Linked DNA regions of Homo sapiens: all the other regions are linked to region 3. The links are contacts of gene promoters, found by promoter capture Hi-C in blood cells and fetal thymus (Javierre and others, 2016). All regions are on one chromosome and are shown on one strand. Each heading gives the region's core, a stretch centred on a gene start or on the middle of the fragment in contact. The rest is flanking DNA. Distances are from core to core; before and after follow the strand shown. Region 1 overlaps LARP4B (La ribonucleoprotein 4B). Region 2 has its middle 110 kb from the start of DIP2C. Region 3 holds the start of GTPBP4 (GTP binding protein 4).

What was found. The method cuts DNA at HindIII sites, captures the fragments that hold promoters and counts their contacts. A CHiCAGO score of 5 or more calls a contact.
Region 1: a fragment that was not itself captured here is called in contact with the fragment with the promoter of GTPBP4 in region 3 in 9 of 17 cell types (monocytes, M2 macrophages, M1 macrophages and 6 more); the score reaches 20.0 in monocytes.
Region 2: a contact is called between a fragment that was not itself captured here and the fragment with the promoter of GTPBP4 in region 3, in 1 of 17 cell types (monocytes). The highest score is 7.0, in monocytes.

Annotation. Positions count from the first base shown.
Region 1 is chr10:841,432-844,131 of GRCh38, reverse strand. LARP4B (La ribonucleoprotein 4B) reads left to right here. Exons shown (of 18, transcript NM_015155.3): 7 at 1,064-1,200. Among named protein-coding and RNA genes, the nearest start is that of LARP4B, 89 kb to the left of the region's middle. The HindIII fragment of the contact is 4,915 bases long and covers 1-2,700 here.
Region 2 is chr10:801,781-804,480 of GRCh38, reverse strand. No RefSeq gene overlaps it. Among named protein-coding and RNA genes, the nearest start is that of DIP2C, 110 kb to the right of the region's middle. The HindIII fragment of the contact is 230 bases long and covers 1,260-1,489 here.
Region 3 is chr10:987,029-989,728 of GRCh38, reverse strand. It overlaps GTPBP4 (GTP binding protein 4), which reads right to left and starts at 1,295. Exons shown (of 17, transcript NM_012341.3): 1 at 1,202-1,295. The coding sequence starts at 1,249. It also overlaps a transcript of LARP4B not described here. The HindIII fragment of the contact is 2,419 bases long and covers 107-2,525 here.

The DNA.
Region 1 (2,700 bases), core at 6-2,505, 150 kb after region 3:
CCTCCTGCATGGCCTCCGTTTGATCGGCAGTCATGGGCCTTCACCGAGGGACACTGAGCAGAGGCCCCAGGAACCCAGCACTGTGCTCAGTTTTGAAATGTTTCTTAGGGCCTTGTTCACTACATTACATGATGCCTTGAGAATTCACAGGAAACATTGATCTTTGGCCAAAACACCAGAAAATAGCTCATCATGGCCCAAACTGCTGATGATTTGTGGCTCACCTTTGGATTTTGTGGGTAAAGTTACTGTTTCCTTCTTTTTAATTCTGGCTGCTAGGAAGCCAGGGCTGGATATAGGCCCTCTGGTGAGTGTTCCAGAGTCTACAGGAGGAATTTTGGGTATGACCTTATCCTGGCCTTTTTATGTTTTCCTTTCTTGTTCATTGAGCTGGATTTCTTTACTTTAAATTGTTTTTCTTTCTTTTTTTTTGAGTCAGAGTTTCACTCTTGTCGCCCAGGCTAGAGTGCAGTGGTGTGATCTTGGCTCACTGTAACCTCCACCTCTCGGGTTCAAGCGATTCTCCTGCCTGAGCCTCCCGAGTAGCTGGGATTACAGGTGCCCGCCACCATGCCTGGCTAATTTTTGTATTTTTAGTAGAGATGGGGTTTCACCATGTTGGTCAGGCTGGTCTTAAACTCCTGAACCCAGATGATCTGCCTACCTTGGCCCCCCAAAGTGCTGGGATTCCAGGCGTGAGCCACCGTGCCCGGCCTAACAAAATTGTATGCATTTTTAATAAACTCTTAAGCTACTTCTTAGGACAAAAATGACAGCTATAAATAATTACATCTTATTTAAAAATAACCATCTTCTCATAAATTTTGATTGTAGAAAGTACAGTATACTTTTACTTTTGCACTCCCTGCCTCTCCAAGGCCGAGATTTTGCAAAAATGTACCTGAGGCTGGAGAGACAGCAAATAACAGATGGGTCCTGGGCTGAGATTTAACTCCAAAGCAATACCATGCCACACTCACGCCTCTTGTGAAACTGGAATTACAGTAGGTGAAACTTCCTTTTAAAGAAATACTGATTAAAAGAGATTGTTTTCTTTCAACAGGGAGAACCTTGCTAGTGACATGTATCTTATATCACAGATGGATAGTGACCAGTATGTGCCAATCACAACGGTGGCTAACCTCGACCACATCAAGAAGCTCAGCACTGATGTGGACTTGATTGTGGAAGTGCTAAGATGTAAGTAAATGACAATTTAAATTAATAATACTTGTCCTTAGAGTATTTGTCTTATCAGCATGAACCTTTAAATCTATAGCCATCAAACGTTAAGGTCCTTGATGGCGAATCAGATTCTTTTCTGGCCTTCCGTTCCTTTCTGCCCAGGTCCAATAATTCTGGAGTAGCGCCTGATAGTCCCTGGGAATGCCAGTTGAACCCGTTATGAAACCTCAAACAAGTTTTGGGACATATGAAGTAGAAAAGAATCTTGTTAATGGGGATTTTAAAGATAGCTGTTTCATTCATGAAAAACAAAATAAAAATAACATTTATAGTTAAAGTAAAATACACTTTAGTTACAGTTTTACCACTAGAGGTTTTTCTTTCAAATTGCAACTTCCTGTTTATGTTCGGATGAAATAATTATTGCAATTTTTCTTAAAATTATGTTGTGGGCCAGGTGTGGTGGCTTACGCGTGTAATCCCAGCACTTTTGGAGGTCGAGTTGGGCGGATCATGAGGTCAGGAGATTGAGACTGTCTTGGCCAACATGGTGAAACCCTGTCTCCACTAAAATACAAAAAATTAGCTGGGCGTGGTGGTGTGTGCTTGTAATCCCAGGTACTTGAGAGGCTGAGGCAGGGAAATCACTTGAACCCAGGAGGCGGAGGTTGCAGTTAGCTGAGATTGTGCCATTGCACTCCAGCCTGGCGACAGAGATAGACTCCATCTCATAAAAAAAAAAAAAAATTATGTTGTGAGTGAAGTTGTTTCTTTGAAGTTTGGCAACATCAAACAGTGTTTAAGCATTAAGTGTGGATGGTGCCCCTACATAGTTTTGAGTGATTGGACATTGCTAAGCCTGACTTCAAGTCTCAATTAAGTCCACTGCCTATACTCACATAGAAGGGTTTTCACGTTGTCCCTGGCTTATCTGTACTGACGACAGTCTGTGCAGGTTTTTTTTTTTTCTTGTATGAATTTGACTTTACAGTAGTATAAAAAAGTGAGCATCTTACATGAGAACTTAGTTGGATTTTCTTTTCACAAATAAAATATAAAATAAAAGTTTTATGTTTTTCTGTTTTTAGACAAATAGCATGGGTTATTAAATTATTGGAGACAGTGAAAAAACTGACAAACATAATTACCATTGACTGTGAGTTCTGAGAGCGGCACTGCTGTCTCCCAGGATGGCGCCGTGCTCCCTGGTGTCATCATGCAGAACAGAAGCTGTTGTCTGTGCCAGCTGAATTGGGCCCCATCTTTGAAAGGCCAGCAGCATTCTTGTCCCTGTTTGTACTCTGAAGTCTTTTTGGTTATGATTAGGAGTTTCAGGTTTAGTTATTCCTTTTCGGACAGACCTTGCAAACGCTGCTGCCCCACTGGGATGATTTCTCAGTTGATTGTTACTGGCAAGGGGTCGTTTCCACCAACCATGAGGATATTAAATTGCTCTGTGTGCTTGCTTAACAGAGCCCACCTGCCCATAGGCGATCCAGGGCAGGCTTGTCACCT
Region 2 (2,700 bases), core at 125-2,624, 190 kb after region 3:
TTCCTCAGGGCACCCACCATCCCCGGCGTAGGTCTACAGGGTCCTCCCTGAGGAGCCAGGGCCGGGCTCATCTGTGTCACATCATGCCTGCTGCTCTGCTGTCGCACTGGAGCGGCAGAGGCAGAGCCCGCCCCACCCTGCAGCTCCGTGTGACCCCGGCTGTGACCTCCCGGGTGGGTGGCCCTGCCGCAGGAGAGCCACTTTCAGAGATGCCCTGAGTGATCGTCACCAGCTGCATCCTGCAAACTTCATCTTGCTGTCCCTGTGGCTTGGAGAGCCCAGTCAGCTTTGCTTGTAAACATACATGTTACTTACAGTTGTATTTGGTCATGCCAGATGAAATTACTGTTTTTAGAGGTCAAAGTGAGCAAGTAGCAACTTTATATGGTTCCAGCTAATATTTATGTTACATTTATGTTCTGATGAAACACTTTTGTGCTACTGACCCATTTTTGTGGATGACTGCAGAAAATATACTGAAACTTAATGATGACAATGAAAACCTCAAACCTAAATGTAAAATAAAAAACATGAAAAAATGGTGGCAGAGCTCACCATCTTAAATGCTTTAAGAACATAGTATTTCTGTAAAAATCATGATTTTTACATTTCAAGTTTGTTAAATTTTTTGCTTCTTCCTTCTAAACTACAGGCGGCTCACCCACCAACCCTGTGTTCACTCCCACTGGCCACGAATGGGAGGGAAGGTGGCGTGGCCCCTCTGCACAGGACTGGCCCTCCCTCCCAGCAGGGCTGAGCCTGCAGAGGGCACAGAGTGAGCTGGGGGGTGCCCTGCCAGTGACTCAAGTTGGGAGGGGCCCTGCGTGGCAGAGTCTAAGGGGCCACCTGTCCTAGAAACATGCACATCTCGTGGGCTGCTAGTGCAGAGCCCCGAGGAGCTTCAAGGTGAGAAAGGCCAGAGCATGCTCCCAGCCCAGGACCGCCTCGGTGCCCACACCTCCCTTCTGTGCACAGACAGGACAGGGCAGGACAGCCGATGGGAGGTGTGGAGAGGTGGGGATCATGGGCCCTACCCGTCTAGACAGCAGGAACCTAGGTGGACCCTCCACGTCTCCAGGAGAAGCCGCCTTCGTTTCCTGAACAGATGGCCCCACCCTCGTGTCCTTCGCCCGCCTGACCTCTGCTTTGGCAGGAGGAGGTATTTCCTGCCCTGTTTAGATGCCATTCGAGCCCGAAAGACCGGACCTGGAGAGACAGGGCTCGGGGAAGACTGGGTCAGGGTGGGGAGGAGACAAGCTTCACGGTGTGCTGGCCGTTCCATGGGAGGAAAACCGCCAACCCCCCTCTTGGAACTGCCATATGGGCTGCAAGATGGCTGCAGCCTGGATGCCGAGCTGGGCCTGTGGGAGCCAGCCCCACCGGGGTGCGCAGGCCTTCCTGCAGGTCAGCAAGCCGGCCGGTGAGTGCCAGGCAGACACCCCCACAGGCAAGAACCCCAGGCCCTCTTCTCAGTAAACCCAGAGAAGCTTCCAGCCCCACTCTGGAGGGGCTCCTGCAGTGTGAGTGGGAGCGTCCTGTTACCCTAGAAAAGCCCAACAGGAGACAGGGGAAGCGATTTTTGAAATATTTTATTTGACTCTGCCCAAAATAGGACCATTTCAACACAATCTATGTAAAACATGATGAAGGAGACAGTTTGTGTTGTGTGGCCGTGACTGTGTCAGACGGCACGGGGCTGAAGGGTGGTCCTGGCTGCTACAGGCCAGAGCTGTGTCCTGGGGTCTTGTGAGACCTGGGGCAGCACACCGGGTTCACGCCCCTGGAGGCCTGAGGCTCGTCATCCTTGTCCCTGGCTCACAGGCTGGAAGTTGTGGGTAGAGTGGCTAATTGCTGTGGTTCCACACTTCTGTCCTGGGGACATCGGAGTACTGCTGGCTTACTGTGCACAGCTGATCCCCAAAGGACTCTGATGTTTGCAGCCACGTGGGACGGGGTGGAGTGTTCATTTCTACATTTTATTTTGTAGGATGGCGTCTCCCTGTAGGCCAGGACCGCAGGGCCCACATTCCCACCAACGGTGTATAAGCATTCCCTTTTCTCTGCAGCTTCCCAGCATCTGTTGTTTTTTGACTTTTTAATAATAGCGATTCTGGCTGGGCACAATGGCTCACATCTGTAATCCCAGCACTGTGGGAGGCTAAGGCAGAAGGATTGCTTGAGCCCAGGAGTTTGAGACCAACCTGGGCAACATAGCAAGGCCTCGTCTCTACAAAAAATAAAAATAATTAGCTGGGTGTGGTGGCACACACCTGTAGTCCCAGCCATTTAGGGGGTTGAAGTGAAAGGATCCTTTTAAGCCCAGGAGGTGAAGGCTGCACTGTGCTGTGATCGTACCACTGCTTTCCAGCCTGGTCAACAGACCAAGACCCTGTCTCAAAAAAAACCTCAACATCTGAAAGCATAGCCATTCTGACTGGTGTGAGATGGTATCTCATTGTGGTTTTGACTTGCATTTCTCTGATGTTTCGTGATGTGGAGCATTTTTTCACATTTGTTGGTCACTTGTGTCTTCTTTTGAGAAGTGTCTGTTTATGTCTTTTGCCCATTTTTAAATTGGTTTATGTGTTTTTTGCTTGTTGATTTCTTTTTTTATAGATTCTGGATATTAGATATTTGTAGAATGCATAGTTCGCAAATATTTTCCCCTGTTCTGTAGTTTGTCTGTTTACTCTTTTGATA
Region 3 (2,700 bases), core at 46-2,545:
TCAAGAGATGTGCCAGAACAACTGTCAGGAAGAAATAAGAAATGGTGGAGAGAAGTGGGGAAACAACTTTTGCTATGAAGGTAAAATACGAGACTCCCACAAAGCTTTCCAAGGCAAGCTCATCCCGTCCTTGAGACCTGAAGAAAAGGAGGCACTGACGAGGGGAAAACAGTCACTCTGCAGGGACTTCAGTAACTCCCTCTCGTGCAGGAGTCCCTGGGAGGCTCCAGTTGCCCGTCAATGTCTGTGTAATTGCGACCCAAATCGAATGTTCACTACATAAAAACGTGACTTCTTAAAAGTCCTAATACTAGGGCCGGGCGCAGTGGCTCACGCCTGTAATTCCAGCACTTTGGGAGGCCGGGGCGGGAGGATCACCCGGGATCAGGAGTTCGAGGCCAGCTTGGCCAACGTGGTGAAACCCCGTCTCTACTAAAAATACGAAAATTAGCTGGGTGTGGTGGTGCACGACTGTAATCCCTGTTACTCGGGAGGCTGAAGCAGGAGAATCGCTTGAACGCGGGAGGTGGAGGTTGCAGTGAGCCGAGACTGCGCTCCAGCCTGGGAAACAAGAGCGAAAAACTATGTCTCAAAAAAAAAAAAAAAAAAAAAAAGTCCTAATACTCAACACTTGTTGACTCATTCTTGCCACACCAACCAACGCTGTAAAAATTTAGTCTGGGCCTACTATGGTCTGAAAAGGAACAGGTATTCCCAAATCTAACAGTGAAAGAGAATGACTTAAAAATTATGAAACGTTAAATCACGAGAACAACGAACCCAGGATTCCTGAGAGGGGAGGGGGCTACGCCAAACCCAGAATCCGAAGGCTCATCACGGACCACGGAACGCTTCCTCCCTCACATGTCGGGGTCCCCCTCCACTCGCCCACATCGTCACCCGGGGCCCCTCCAGGGAACCCAACTCTGGGTGTACCCCCATCTCTGGGGGCCCTCAGTCTTTGGGTGGACCACGGTCTTAGGTGGACCCCGGTCTCTGGGGGATCCGATCTCTGGTGGACCCCGGATTCTGCTGGGGGAGGGGAAATGATCCCGAGTACGCGGCCAGACGGTCAGGCCCAGGAGCGGGGGATGGGCGAGCGGAAGGCGACCGCTCTCCCACGGCTACAGGCCCGGACCCTCCCCGGGGACCCAGCTGAGGAGAACGCGAAAGTTGCAGTGGCCCTCCCGGGGCCGCCTACCTTGGCGGACGGCACCACCGTAATTTTCTTGAAGTTGTAATGTGCCATGCCGGCAGCCGTATGCACGCGGGTACTTGGCACTCCCGGAACTTCCGCCGTCGGGCGCAGGTGGGACTTCCACTGTCGGGCGGTTGAGGTACGTCACTTCCGGGAGCTCAGCCAATCGTGTTCTGCGTGCTCTACGGCGCTTTCCGCGTCGCACAGCGCACCCGCCCGGCTTGGAGGTCAGCCACGGAGGGCGTGTGAGGGCCTCAGGAGCGAGGGTACAGAGGAGAGGACGCCCGGGTTTTAGGGGGAGCGCGGAGACTAAATTCCTGCTGAGTAAAGCGGGGGTTTCCGACAGACTGCCCTGCGGGTTTCTGGAGCGGGTTCAGGCCCCCAGCCACGCGCCCTGGGCCAGGGTTGGAGGGTCCGGGGTCTTGGGATTTGGGAGTTGCGGGGCTTAGGAGTCCAGAGGGTCTAGGGGATCCGGGAGTCTGGGGGTCCTGGGTCGCGGCGAGCCCCGCAAAGGAGGAGGAAGCCGCGCGTGCGGGGCGTGCCCAGCCTCTGGGTGTGGAGCAGATGACGCCCCTACCCCGGCCTCGCGCGTGGGACTTGATCCCGGGCCGTGGTGAGGAGGCCCTCGCGGCTTCCCTGCAGCCCTGCTTTCTCGTGCTTGTTAAATCCCAAAACGGGCGGAGAAGGGAAAGCCTGATCTAAGGCAAAAGAGGTGCAGCTGGTTCCGCGCAGTGCCTTAGGAGAGCCCAGGGAACAGTTGCGAGAGACAGTCCTGTGGGGTCCAACTGAGGAGAAGGTTGATGAGGATGGAGCCTTTACTGCTTTTATGTTTGTGAATAGAGTGGCCGCTCCCTTTGGGAACCCAGGGCCACATCCCTTAAATTAAACGTTAGGTAGGGCTGACTCAGTCAAGCAGTGTTCAGAGCTGCTGACTATATATTAACTCGTTTAATTTCTGCAACAGCCTCATGAAGTGCATGGGGAAACAAAGGCACACAAGGCTCGAAAGCACCCCGTGGTTGTGCAGCTGACAAGCTAACAGGCAGCAGAGGTGGGCTTTGAACCCAGGCAGCCTGGCTCCAGCAAACCTGCTTCTAACCATTAGCTATACTGCTTCTCACGCATCTGGGATGCCCCCCACTCTCCAATCCTTTTAAACAAGTCCTATTATTCTTACGCGAAAATACCTCTCATAAATTCCCAGCATTCCAATATTGAAAATCATTCTGGGTCATGCTTTTCTCATCTATTAACTATGCTTCCATTTTTGTGTCACAAGGCGGATAAGCATACCTCCTACATCTTTGTGGCACTTCTAAAGGAAGCTTCTAGGGTAATTAGGATTTGCTGGCTATGATCATTTGCTAAACCACAGGACAGTTCTGGCCACCATTTCCGAGATTAGCAAAGCTATGCTCATACTTATTGCCCTTTCTTTTAGGTTCTTGTATGTTTCCTCAACCTCTCCCACTTTCTCTCACTCTGATATAGCCAGTTCCTCT